Linked DNA regions of Homo sapiens: regions 1, 2, 4 and 5 are each linked to region 3. The links are contacts of gene promoters, found by promoter capture Hi-C in blood cells and fetal thymus (Javierre and others, 2016). All regions are on one chromosome and are shown on one strand. Each heading gives the region's core, a stretch centred on a gene start or on the middle of the fragment in contact. The rest is flanking DNA. Distances are from core to core; before and after follow the strand shown. Region 1 overlaps LOC105373855 (a long non-coding RNA gene). Region 2 has its middle 21 kb from the start of PTH2R. Region 3 holds the start of MAP2 (microtubule associated protein 2). Region 4 overlaps PTH2R (parathyroid hormone 2 receptor). Region 5 has its middle 38 kb from the start of PTH2R.

Region 1 (2,700 bases), core at 141-2,640, 1.0 Mb before region 3:
TTCAAGGCTCTGGGAGTGCACTGGGAACAGGACAGGATCATTATCCTTGAAGCTCTGGTGCCTAAGAGACGCTAGCCACAGTGTGTTGTTGTTATTAGAGGTTGTCCCCTTACACAGCTCCCTGGTTCCTCTCCACTGCACCTGTTCTACAAGAGCCAACAGAACACTTTTTCCTACAAAAACATTTTTGTATCACAGCCATTTGGTGGCACATGACTGGCTACCATACCATTCATTGCAATGCCATGTCTTAGCCAGGCTTTGAGGGACCCCAGTTCCTGCTACTCCTCACTTTCCTATTTTTACCAACAAGGCAGTTTTCTTCCTGTTTTTGCACATTATATAAGTCACCCAGTTTCTTGGTGTGCTTTTGCCATTCAAAACACTTAAAAATGCCCTTTCCCTTTGTCATAGCTTCTGAGAAGCTTTGCAGATTTTCTCACTATCCTGGAAGACTTCTTCAAGTAACCTTAGCCTCAAAGTAATCAGTCCCTCCCTCTGCAGCCTGTAGCTATTTTTATATTATGTTATTTTGTCCATGTTGATATTTTGCTTTGTCATATAAATTCTTTAGGAGAAAACCAGTATGTTCCATTTTTTGTTGTTTTTATCAATATTTACTTTTTACAGTGGTCTTTCTTGTCTAGAAAGTACCTAGTATAAATTGCTAACAAAATGTCATAGCTCCCTACATCTTAAAAAGTCCTCAATCAAATTTTATTTTTCAAGGTTTCTTGTACTTATTTTAAGTGATAAAGAAACAACTAGATTGACATTTTCAATGTTCCTTCCTAATCCATCTCCAAATTAAAGGGTTGTTACTTATCTAGGTGAAATTTCTCTTTCTTGTGGTATTTGGTACATTCTTGGGAGCATATGCCTTCGTGTGCTGAAAGACTCAACATAAATTGCTCATAGATATGTCATACTGCCTGTAATGTTGAGTGATCCTTTGGTTTAACAAGGATTAAAAATGTAATTCTATTGGGAACTTATCTCTGTGGGGAAATGAGAAAATGAATGAGAAGGTGCTTAGTACATCTGTGAAGTTCTATGGAAATGCTAAAGCGCATTCTATAGGGGCACGGTAGAATAGTAGAAAAAGTGATAAATGTGGAAACAGAAGACCTAAGCTGAAGTCTTCACTGGCTGCCGTGTGTCCTTCTGCACATCATTTAGCTTCTTTCTGAGTTATAGTTTCCTCATCTAAATAGGTACTACCCCTAAAATGGATATTTTAGTTTATGTATCTCTAAGGCTTGTTTGGGGAATCAGGATATTTTGCTGGATGCAAATATTTTGCAGAATGTAGATTTATGAAAGAAATTGGTTAAAATATGTTAAAAATATGAGCTATTGTTATAGCCAGCAAATTATAGCCATTTAATCCATGATATTGGCTAGTTCAGTCAGACGTTTTCCATGGAGGCAGTAAGATTTTCATGATTAGAATTTTTTTATTGAGGAAATATGCTATACATATGTAGGGATGATTTAAGTATTGGGAAGAAGTTAAATGATTTTTTCACATACTAAAATCCTATGGGATTTCTAGAGAAGACTTGCAGCTCTCCTAAATTCTTGACAGAAGAGTGTGTCAACTCTGAGAAAGCCATTTAATTTTAGAAAGACAAAATGGAGGTACAAAAAGCAGAAGGGGCTATTTGTCCAGTTAGCATTTGGACAGGATTAAATCCTGGTGCTAACTGATCTAACAATTAATGAAATCACATTGCTCTCACATCAGATGCTAGCAGCTAGATTTCACACTGCAAGCACGGGAGTTCAATGACAGGATGGTGTTCAGTTATTATTGGTGTGTAGCAAGCTACCCCCAATCTTAATGACTTAAAGTAAGTACAACCACTTACATAGCTCAGAAATCTGTAATTTGGACAGGCTCTTCTCTGCTTAAGTTGGTATCAACTGAGGCAGCTGAGCTTGGGTTAGAGGATTCAGTTCCAACATGGCTCATTCATAGGGCTGATGAGTTGCCACTGGTTGTTGCCTGGAACAGTGGTTAGGATTGAGACCTGAGATCTTCAGTTGCCTGCACTGGGCTTCTCTATGGGCGTCTCAGACTTCCTCACAGCATGGTGGCTAAATTCCAAGACTGAAAGGAAGTCCTAGAGCCTAGAAGTAGAAGCTGCCAGTTTCTTAAGGCCAGAGTTTATTTCCACTATATTCTATAGGTCAAGCAGTCATAGAGCCCATAATCATGGGAAGGAGACATAGGCCCTCACCTCTCAATGAAAAGTGTGTGTCCAAGAGTTTTGGGGGCATATTTTAAAACCTCTACAGTCAGAGAGTGTAAGGGGAGAACAGAGAGAAGAAGAACATTAAGTCTTAGGAGGACAAGCTTGAGTTGGGGCTGTTAGTTGGCTACTGAGAAGAAAGTTCTCATCTAATTATTTGAGAAACAAAGACAGAACATTGGTAATTTAACAAGTAGGGCAGTGTAGATTTAAGAGAGAGGAAATGGCATGGTACCAAGCACATAAGTCCAACTTCTTAATTTTCTTCAGGCTTTATCTTGACTGAGGTGGGCCTTGAATTTAACAATTTTCTTTAATCCTCAGTAGGGAAACTTTAAGATTGGCGATTGCTTCCTTTTCATTATTTTCCCTTAAGCTACAAATTAATTACTGAGTATTTCCATAATAGGCTTTGCATATTAATAATTATAAATGGAATGTAATA
Region 2 (2,700 bases), core at 194-2,693, 1.0 Mb before region 3:
GATGTCCATGTGAAAAACTGCTAAATACTGAAACAAGAGAGCATGTGACTAAGCAATACCATGTGTGGCACAGAAAACAAGTGCAATAGCAGTTTAGCAAAGTGAGTTCAGTGTAGGCTGAACTGGTTAGAGCAGGTTTCCGGGTGAAGGTGAGGATTGGTGAGGGTTTGGATTGGTAGAAAGAGACGGGGAGGACATCTCACATCAAGAAGTTATGCCAGTGGATTTCAGGAGAATTGAGTGTTTGTGTCTGAAAAGCCTGTAAGAATAGGGCATGACAGTGTGGAGAAATGCATGAAAGTATGAAGGATCGTGATATCCAGTTTGAGGAGTGCTAACTAGAGGCTCTGAAGATTTGAGAAGAAACATAATGAAAGGTGTTCTCAGCCTGATCTTGGTATGCAGGACTGGTAAACCCCAAACACCTTACCATTCTATTACCTCTCCCTCAAGGAATGGGTCCCTTGATAAGAATTTAGTGTAAAAAAGATTGTCAATTCAGTGCTGCTGCTGAGTGCTAGTTTCTTTAAACACACACAGTTTTCTTTTGAGAATTTTTTTTCTATTAGATAGACGAACTGTTATTTAAATGAAAAAGGCACATAGTCCCATAAAACAATTACACATTCGGGTGATAACTTCAAAAGGAGAAATTAAAATGTTCTTATGTTTTGAGCAAGCATTTCCACTTCCAGACTTTGCTGCATAAACATCTGTGGTCATCTAGGGAATGCCTGACCTGGTTCAGAGGTGTCAGAGCAATGTAAAGTCACGGAAGTGCTGCAGTTCTATTCTGGGCTCTCATCTTTTTGCAGCGGTCCATTCTCTAATTTTCAACCACATATTACCAGACAATCTCTTAAGTCATACACAACAAACTGATTCTGTTTCAATGCTTAGAATTAGAATAAAAAAGCCTAAGCAAAAATAGCACAAACATTTGAAAAACACTCCTTTTTTCTACCACTCCCTTCTTAGAACAGAAATAAAAGCCCTGTACTTTAAGAAAATGGATGGAAGAATTTTCTTTGTACTTCTTATTCTCCAAGTTACATTTACTACCTGATAGTGTTAATACCTTTTTGTAGTACCTTTCTTTAAAATATACAGGGAAATGATCTGTTCCAAGAAACTGTGTTTTTAAATTTAATTATAGTGTGCTATGATGATTTAAAAAATGGCCTTTTGAGTAAAGGACACGAACAAGTTATTTAAAAAGTGAGCAGTAAGTGTGGTCAGTAAACACATCAAAAAGTTCCCTTCACTAATATTCAAAGAAATGCAAATTAGAATAATAATACCCTTGTTGCTTGTCAAATTAATACTTTAACAATTATTATGTAAATTTTATGGATAGGATTGCAAATCAACACACCTTTCCTGGCCACTGGTGTACATAATAGAAATTCTAAAAATGTTCTTAGGCTTGACCAAGCATTTCCACTTCTAGACTTTGCTGCACAAAGATCTGTGGTCATCTAGGAGAAGGCTTGACCTGGTTCAGAGGTATCAGAGCAATGCAAAGTCATGAAAATGCTGCAATTCTATCCTGGACTGTCATCTTTTTTGTAGTGGTCCATTCTCTAATTTTTCAATGACGTAGTACCAGACAGTCTCTTAAGTCAAATGTATTTGTAGGGCTCTGGATTTGAAATTCAATCTGGCTTTCAGCCTTGATGTGGCCACTCCCAACTTGTAAAGGACCTGTGAAGACTTAGACACAGAATAAAACACAGAAGATAAGAAAACCAACTTTGAAAGAAAATTTATTGTCAAAATTGTACTGGGTCAATTGAGCAAAAACTTCAAAGAGCGTTTTCATATTAACCAAAGCATCCCTCCTCAATTGAAACATATAAAGATATTGTTCACCCCTATCCTGACTCAGAGATCCACAAATCTGGGCATTCATCATCACCATATTCTGCTGGCAATAGTTTTAAGCAGCTAAATTACTGTTCTCTACTCTTGAGTTTCCTCCATCTCTTCAGATACAGAAAGTTCTAGAATATATTCAAATAATCAAATCTTTAATTCATTCCATATATCTGGCTCAAGACAGTGTCCCAATAACCTTATTCTAGAGAAAGTCAGATTTAGACTTGTGCTCATCATCATACTCATGTTCTTGACATCATTTTAAGCTCTGAGGAGACATCTCACATAACTCTCATTGATACGTGTATACATCTGTCACTCTGTGTTTGTGCTGTGATGGATGGACTTGGATGTAGATATGCATAGATGATGAAGCAGATAGCTATATATATGGTATTGATGTAGATTCAGTACAGCTGTATAATTGCATCTGTGTTTCACATATCTTGTGTACTGTATCTTGACTGTATCTGTGTCAATACCTAATTGAGTTATAAGGCATAAATATGTGGAGCTCTTAGCACAATACCTGGCACACTGCAATCAGTCGATGTATGTGTTTGTGTGTGTGCGTGTGTGTGTGTGTGATACAGACAGAACCTGCTAATATGCATAATAGTCAGGTTGGGTTGTTATAACAAAATACTATAGACTGTGTGGCTTAAACGGCAGACATTTGTTTCTCACAGTTCTGGAGTCTGGGAAATCCAAGGTCAAGATTAGTTTCTGGTGAGAGCAGTCTTCCTCTTTTGCAGCTCCCCATGGTTTGCAAATCACAGATTTCTCGCTGTATTCTCACATAGTGTAGGAGGAACAGAGGGA
Region 3 (2,700 bases), core at 123-2,622:
TCACAGCTTCCTCTGTGATGGTTTCTAATCCTTGCAGGCTCCCACCATTGGGTCTCTTTCCATCTGAAAATGGAGGAAATTAGACCAGCTGCCTAAAACATCAACTCTAATGTTCTAGGTTCTAAGATTCTGTGGTTAATTTAAGTGACAGAACCACATTATGGCTGCTGTTTCATCAGCACTGTGAAGACTGTACAAGCCACACCTCAGTATGTTGGCTGACCTTAAAAACACCTTGTCAGTACTTGATATAGACACTCGAAGTAATTCTAAGTTGCATCTTACTTTTCTTACTTACAATAAAATGCTGCTCTCTGATTATGAAGATTCATACTCCTTAGTACGAATGGTAAAGAATCATTTGTTTTCTCAGGTGGTCATTTCACTTTCAAAAGCATTTAAGAGGCAATTTTTTTAAGGGTGATATTTCAAGGTCAACACTTTCCGTGCTTTCTAATTCATTGTATTTGTATCATTCTTCAAAGATCCTTCATATTCATTATCTTTTTAAGCATAAGAGAATTGGGCTGTCATTTTTAGTTCTCATATGACACATGAATACACTGAGAGTTAGATTAAGTGAACTGTCTCTAGAGCATACGTCTGGCTATCTAGAATGTAATAACTATAAAGGGAGGGGATCTTTCTTATTAGGGTTGTGGGAAAGGTCTGTCACTGATGTTTCTAATGCTTAGAAGAGTGCCTGACACATAGTAGGTGTCAATAAACATTCGTTGACTCAATAAATGAATGAATCTAATTCGTGACAGAGCTGGGTCTAGAATTCTCTACTCCCTCAGCCATTGCTCCTTTAGTGCTGACAAGAGTTGTTCTATGTTCTCAAGCGCCCCACATTCCTTTGTCTTTTCTGGATGCACCTGTGGTTGGGTTTGTGAGGCGAGGCCAGTGAGCTTTCCTGGTGAGGTGCCACTGGCAACCCCGCCTCATAGCGACACAGGGGAGGGAAGCAGGGGGTCTGCGGAGGTTGCTCCCGAGAGACTAAAGCTGTTGCCCCCGATTTTCCAAGGACGCCAGTGAGGAAGGCCCGCCTGTCCCGCCGCCCGGGCACTGGCCTCACTTTGTCGCGGGAGGGGACCAGGGCTCTGGAGAAGGCCCGGGCCAGCGGCTGGGCGGGGCTCTCCGAGGCTCCCACCTCGCGGTCCCCGCCTGGCGGCCGGCGGCTGCGGCAGAAGGCGAAGCGGTCGTGCTCCCCCTCCCGGACACTGCGGCGGTGGCAGCGCCAGCCCCGCCGCGGCCGCCCACGGGCTCGCGGAGTCTGGCGGGACCTGCGCGGGGCGGGACCTGCGCGGGGCGGGGAGGAGGGGCCGAGGCGGAGCTGCTGCGCTGGGAGCCGGCTGGGGGCGCCGCTCTCAGTCTGGGGCGGGCGCTCGGGCTGCGCGGGCTCTGGGCAGCAGCAGCAGCAGCAGCAGCATCCTCTCTTCCTTTACTTCCCTTCCGCTTCTTTCTCTTCCTTCTCCTTCTTTTTCCCCCCCCTCCCCTTCTTCCCCTAACCCTTCTACCCCTCTCCTTTTTCTCCGGAGGGCGCTAAGTCCGTGAGCGGTGGCAGTCGCGACCGCGGGTGCATCCAGTTTCTGCGCCCAGGTAAGAGACCGTCCCCACCTCTGGCTCTATGTAGGGCGCCTCTCCTTTTGCCTCGGTCTCTGAGTAGAAAGAGATAGGAATGGGGAGGGGTTGTGTCTCGTCCTCTGGGACTCGCAGCAGGCAGTCTGGTAGTTGGTCGAGTGGCCAGCCGTGCACCTGGCGGAAGATTCGGGCCTGTCCTCTCCAGGTGTCACTGCGGAGCAGGGGGCCGGACGCTACTGGTACCTGAGCCCTGGCTTCGTAGAAGAGCGAGTGAGCTTGTTAGGTACCACTTTGAAACAACTGAAAACTTACGCCAGGTTAGAATACGTGTATCGAAAGCCAGTATTACCTGCGCTGTGGAAAGAAGGGGAGTGGATTCTACAAAGATAGTGGAAAATAGGAAATCGAGGTAGGGGATTTTTTTGTTCATCCAGCTGCAGAGAACTGCACACTGGGAAGTGAGTGAGTGAGGGAAGCCTTGTCCATTTCAAATCATGTTTCTCTGTAATTCCTTCAGAAACAGCTGGGAGAGGAGGACTGATATTTATAATTGTAGGAAAATGAAAAATAAATGCCTGGTGGTGTTGGAGGGCGGGGCACGAAGAAATGAGTCTGGTTAGGCTTCCACACAGTCGTTTTTCTTTTTAAACGTTGGGGGTGGACCTCTGAATCTACAGTGCATCTATTCTTTTCTTCCTTTTCTTTTTAAAAGGCTTTTTTGGTGGGGAGAGGAGGACTGCAGTGCTGGCTGCCTGCCTTCCCCCACCTCGTCTTTTGTTTAAGGATGGAAATTTCAAGAAAGAGTGTGTGGGGGGCTAGGAGTGGGGAGCTGTATATTTGGGTGTGTATAGGGGGAGGGGTATGGATGGAGTCAGAAAAAAAATCCTTGAAAACTGGAAATTAATGTTATTCTGCCTGGCATCCGGACTTCAGGATTTTTGTCAGAAAATAAAAAGCTTTCATTAGCAACAAGCCCGTTTGTGACAATTGCTGTGTGCCATCTGTCGTAAGCTCTTAGCACAATGCTTCCAGGACATAGACGCTTTAAAATTGAGTCCGGTGTAAAGGGTTTTTGTTTAAATGCCTAAACACACAAGTATGCACACAAATGTATAA
Region 4 (2,700 bases), core at 61-2,560, 1.0 Mb before region 3:
AATGAGGTAGTTAGAAATATTCCACTTAAAGGGAGAAATAAGATAAAAAATTTCATAGTTTTCTGGTTTATCTTTGAGTTTTGTTTTACAAAAATGTATCTGTATATTTTCCCTCTTTTTTTGCACAAAAGGTAGCATTCAATTTATACTCTCTGCATTTTGTTTTTCTTACTTCACAATACATCCTGGAAATCATGTTAGGTCATAGAGTTTTCTCACTCTTTTTTATAGCTTCATAATAGCCTATTTTGTAGAAGTACCAAATGTGTGGGCATTTAGTTTTTTCTATCTAATATTTTACATGTATAAATAATACTACACTGTATAGTCTTTATGTATTTTCATATTGTTGAAGCTATAACTTAAATGTAAATCCCTAAAAGTGAAGTCAATCCTTTGGGTATATACCCAGTAATGGGATGGCTGGGTCAAATGGTATTTCTAGTTCTAGATTCCTGAGCAATCGCCATACCAACTTCCACAATGGTTGAACTAGTTTACAGTCCCACCAACAGTGTAAAGGTGTTCCTATTTCTCCACATCCTCTCCAGCACCTGTTGTTTCCTGACTTTTTAATGATTGCCATTCTAACTGGTGTGAGATGGTATCTCATTGTGGTTTTGATTTGCATTTCTCTGATGGCCAGTGATGCTGAGCATTTTTTCATGTGTTTTTATTTGCTGTGTAAATGTCTTCTTTTGAGAAGTGTCTGTTCATGTGCTTCGCCCACTTTTTGATGGGGTTGTTTGTTTTTTTCTTGTAAATTTGTTTGAGTTCATTGTAGATTCTGGATATTAGCCCTTTGTCAGATGAGTAGGTTGCAAAAATTTTCTCCCATTCTGTAGGTTGCCTGTTTACTCTGGTGGTGGTTTCTTTTGCTGTGCAGAAGCTGTTTAGTTTAATTAGATCCCATTTGTCAATTTTGGCTTTTGTTGCCATTGCTTTTGGTGTTTTAGACATGAAGTCCTTGCCCGTGCCTATGTCCTGAATGGTATTCCCTAGGTTTTCTTCTAGGGTTTTTATGGTTTTAGGTCTAACATTTAAGTCTTTAATCCATCTTGAATTAATTTTTGTATAAGGTGTAAGGAAGGGATCCAGTTCAGCTTTCTACATATGGCTAGCCAGTTTTCCCAGCACCATTTATTAAACAGGGAATCCTTTCTCCATTGCTTGTTTTTTAAATCATGCTGCTATAAAGACACATGCTCACGTATGTTTATTGCGGCACTATTCACAATAGCAAAGACTTGGAACCAACCCAAATGTCCAACAATGATAGACTGGATTAAGAAAATGTGGCACATATACACTGTGGAATACTATGCAGCCATAAAAAATGATGAGTTCCTGTCCTTTGTAGGGACATGGATGAAGCTGGAAACCATCATTCTCAGCAAACTATTGCAAGGACAAAAAACCAAACACCGCATGTTCTCACTTATAGGTGGGAATTGAACAATGAGAACACATGGACACAGGAAGGGGAACATCACACACCGGGGACTGTTGTGGGGTGGGGGGAGTGGGGAGGGATAGCATTAGGAGATATACTTAATGCTAAATGACGAGTTAATGGGTGCAGCACAGCAACATGGCACATGTATACATATGTAACAAACCTGCACATTGTGCACATGTACCCTAAAACTTAAAGTATAATAATTAAAAAAAAAAGAAAAAAAAAGTGAAGTCAAAAGATAAATGTACATTTAGGACTTTTTCAATTTTGCCTATTTCTTCTCCATAGCAGTGGAAACATTTTACATTCCCATGAGCATTGTATGAGGCTATTTTTTCCACACATATTTGCCAGCAGAATGTTGCTCTCAATTTTTTTTTGCTAATGAAGTAGTCTTAATATATTTGACCTTACTTTAGCTCAAAATACTATATTGCACTTAATTTATAATTAACTTAAAATTTAATTGGTGTTTTTCATGGTTATAGTCATTAAACTAAACAATTCCTTAAAAACTTTAGCAGATGAATTTTTAAAAATCTGTATTTTGAGAGAATTATAGATTCACATGCAGTGTAAGAAGTAATACAGACACTAAATACCTTTCACGTAGTTTCTTTCAATGGTAACATCTTTCATTACTGTAGTACAATATTACAATCAGGAAATTGACATTGATATAATCCCTCTGTCTTATGCAGATTCCATTGGTTTTATACATACTTGTGTGTGTGCACATGTATTTAGTTTATGCAGTTTTATCACATGTAAAGTTGCATGTGATCACCACCACAGTGAAGATATACAATAGTTCCAGCACAGGAATCCTTTCATAGCCACAACCACTTACTTCTCCCTTCCCTGCAACACCTGGCAACTACTAATTGGTTTTTTGTCTCTGTAATCATTATATGACTCTTAAAAATTTAACCGTGCTTTGTTTCTAAGTATAATTGGAGCTCTATAAATATCTATAATAAATTCACATGTAGTTAATTAAAATATAAGAGAAAAGGATGAGTAATAGCTTTGAAGGATGACAGCTCAATGTGATCGCATTCTTAATGTTTTCATTTAACTGTGTATGAGCCATACCACAGATAGATACAAGTTTTTCTTAAATCATTTTCAGTTTGCTTCTTGCATGAATAGGGTCGTGGGGATTTTTAGAATTTGTAGCCAAATGTGCAAAATCAACTGATCTTCAGATTTAGTTTGAATTAGAGTTCATTATATGAAAG
Region 5 (2,723 bases), core at 23-2,522, 1.1 Mb before region 3:
CTGCTCACTGCAGCCTCTGCCTCCTGGGTTCAAGCGATTCTCCTGCCTCAGCCTCCTGAGTAGCTGAGATTACAGGCACATGCCACCATGCCCAGCTAATTTTTCTATTTTTAGTAGAGACAGGGTTTCGCCATGTTGGCCAGGCTGGTCTCGAACTCCTGACCTCAGCCTCCCAAAGTGCTGAGATTACAGATGTGAGCCACTGCACCTGGCTTCACTCCTTCAAATTTAATTCAGCTAAAGTTTTTATTTTTTTCTCTTTCTTTTTTTTTTTTTTTTTTGAGACAGAGTCACTGTCACCCAGGCTGAAGTGCAGTGGCACAATCTCGGCTCACTGCAACCTCCGCCTCCCAGACTCAAGCGATTTCTGGCTAATTTTTGTGTTTTTAGTAGAGATGGGTTTTCACCATATTGGCCAGGCTGATCTTGAACTCCTGACCTCAGGTGATCTGCCTGCCTTGGCCTCCCAAAGTGCTAGGATTACAGGCATGAGCCACTGTGCCCAGCCTCAAATTTAAGAAGAAACAGTTAACATGGACTTGCATACCTCCAGGATATTGTGAATACCTCTCAATATTTTTCTAAGTTCTCAAAGTCAAATTAGACTCTATGACAATCACTCAAGGTTCCCTTTGTTTCCAATATGTTGATGACCTGCTACTTTGCAACCAAAGCAAACAGGGTGCTCTTCTGGACTCCCTTACTCACCTTAAGGCACTGACTGACTAAGGTTATAAATCTTCCAGGTCCAAATGCCAACAGGTACAAAAAATTCTTACCTACTTAGGCCATAAAATATTTTAGGGTACTCAAAAACTCGTCCCAAAATGCCTTGAATCAATTTTATTCATTATCTCTCAAAGACAAACAATTACGTGAATTTTTAGGAGCAACTGGATATTGCCAATGGATTCCCAATTTTGCTGCCCATGTCTAACCTTTATATGCTGTCCTCTTAGATACAACCACAGAGCACTTTACCTGGTACTCTGAGGCACCAGCCTCCTTGGAAGCATTGTCCACACCCCAGCCCTTCGACTACCCAACTTTGACAATCTTTTTTACCTATATTACTGTGAAAATGATGGGATTGTTGTGGGTATCTTAGGACAATCTTTTTGTCCCATAACATATTTCTCATGTCAACCTAGATATGTCCCACAGTACCTTTCTCATGTTAAGTAGCATCAGGCATTCCTCCATGCTTATATGCAATAGACTTAGCTGCCATCCTAATTGACAAAGCAAGTATTCTTATACTGCCCCACCATTCACCTCTCTGTTCTCCATGCTGTTCCTCTACATTGGTATCCCTTTCAAAGTGGATCTTGCCTCAACTAACCCTTAACTGTTTTTTTTTTGTTTTTGTTTTTTGTTTTTTGACAATTCTGGCACTACCCCAACACCTGCTTGTTCCAATCTTTCAAAGCCTGGCCACCTTAAATAGTTAATCTGGTTACTGGTTAGGTTAACATCTACATAATGCAGAAGAGTTTTTGTTCCTACCAATGTAAATATACCTGGTGAACCCATTCTGGACAATGGATATATAAAAGCATATGGTATCCATAAGCAGGAAGACAAAGTCACTCTGTCTCCTCCTCTGGTAGATTAATTTGGCACTGGGAAGCCTCCATGGAAGCTCAAGGTCAGTGCTTTACCCAAGTAAGACTATTGGAAGGAAATCTCTCTACATTGAAAATAAATACAGTACTGGACCTTTTCTGGGTAACATTTCAAAAATGTATTGCAATCAAATTCTGTGATTTGGCTTCACAGATGGCACTAAACAACCCTCCACTGTCATTGTTACTTGGATTATAACTAAGTATTTCAATGTGAGTGAATGTCAGATTACAGGATAATATTCCTGGTTTGTAGGAAAAAGTAGTGGGATATGGAATAGCTCAAGTGTTCCCCTAGTTGGCTTGACCAGCACCCATGACTATAGTTGGATGGATGGACCTTAACTTGGTCAATAAATAAAATACATTTCTATAGTAACCAAGGCTAAATTAAAGGGTTTCTCTGCCAGGTGTTTCACAACCTGTTTTACCCTCATAGCCTAACAGAAGCACATTGGAAGTGAAGATGTGCAGATGCCAACATGATTGATGATAAGGGTTGTGAAAGACACAGAATTCCAACTTGGTTGTTCACAGGTTCCACCACTATGACCTTGTCTGTAAACAACACTGGTCTCTCTCTCTTTTTTTTTTTTTTTAGAAGGAATCTCACTCTGTTACCCAGGCTGGAGGGCAGTGGCACAATCTCAGCTCACTGCACCCTCCACCTTCCGGTTCAAGCGATTCTCCTGCCTCAGTCTCCCGAGTAGCTGGGAGTACAGGTGCCCACCACCATGCCCGGCTTATTTTTGTAGTTTTAGTAGAGACAGGATTTCTCCATGTTGGCCAGGCTGGTCTTCACCTCAAGTGATCCGCCAGCCTCGGCCTCCCAAAGTGCTGGGATTACAAGCGTGAGCCACTGTGCCTGGCCTGGTCTCATTTTTATGTAGCAATAAGATATATAAAAGGTTCCCACCTAAGTGGTCAGAGAAATGTGAAGTTGGATATCTGGTGCCTTCCCTTACCAGATATCCCACTTTGAATGCTAGCCACATTACAACTGGGGTTCTTTTATATATAAATTAATGCCATGTAGATGCACCTGATGAGACATCATAGACAACGCACTTATGTATTGCAACCCTAAGTTCTCAGTAA

Evidence for each region. The method cuts DNA at HindIII sites, captures the fragments that hold promoters and counts their contacts. A CHiCAGO score of 5 or more calls a contact.
Region 1: a fragment that was not itself captured here is called in contact with the fragment with the promoter of MAP2 in region 3 in 6 of 17 cell types (M0 macrophages, erythroblasts, M2 macrophages and 3 more); the score reaches 21.3 in M0 macrophages.
Region 2: a contact is called between a fragment that was not itself captured here and the fragment with the promoter of MAP2 in region 3, in 6 of 17 cell types (M2 macrophages, M0 macrophages, M1 macrophages and 3 more). The highest score is 17.3, in M2 macrophages.
Region 4: a fragment that was not itself captured here is called in contact with the fragment with the promoter of MAP2 in region 3 in 2 of 17 cell types (M2 macrophages and megakaryocytes); the score reaches 5.9 in M2 macrophages.
Region 5: a contact is called between a fragment that was not itself captured here and the fragment with the promoter of MAP2 in region 3, in 6 of 17 cell types (endothelial precursors, M0 macrophages, megakaryocytes and 3 more). The highest score is 7.3, in endothelial precursors.

The regions. Positions count from the first base shown.
Region 1 is chr2:208,401,800-208,404,499 of GRCh38, forward strand. LOC105373855 (a long non-coding RNA gene) reads right to left here. Exons shown (of 3, transcript XR_001739862.1): 2 at 1-20. It also overlaps a transcript of PTH2R not described here. Among named protein-coding and RNA genes, the nearest start is that of PTH2R, 3.6 kb to the right of the region's middle. The HindIII fragment of the contact is 1,934 bases long and covers 424-2,357 here.
Region 2 is chr2:208,384,064-208,386,763 of GRCh38, forward strand. It overlaps a transcript of PTH2R not described here. Among named protein-coding and RNA genes, the nearest start is that of PTH2R, 21 kb to the right of the region's middle. The HindIII fragment of the contact is 3,994 bases long and covers 1-2,700 here.
Region 3 is chr2:209,422,675-209,425,374 of GRCh38, forward strand. It overlaps MAP2 (microtubule associated protein 2), which reads left to right and starts at 1,373. Exons shown (of 16, transcript NM_001375505.1): 1 at 1,373-1,602. RefSeq lists a silencer at 1,054-1,443. The HindIII fragment of the contact is 4,087 bases long and covers 1-2,538 here.
Region 4 is chr2:208,418,626-208,421,325 of GRCh38, forward strand. All of the region lies in intron 1 of PTH2R (parathyroid hormone 2 receptor), which reads left to right. Among named protein-coding and RNA genes, the nearest start is that of PTH2R, 13 kb to the left of the region's middle. The HindIII fragment of the contact is 3,446 bases long and covers 1-2,700 here.
Region 5 is chr2:208,367,162-208,369,884 of GRCh38, forward strand. It overlaps a transcript of PTH2R not described here. Among named protein-coding and RNA genes, the nearest start is that of PTH2R, 38 kb to the right of the region's middle. The HindIII fragment of the contact is 6,349 bases long and covers 1-2,723 here.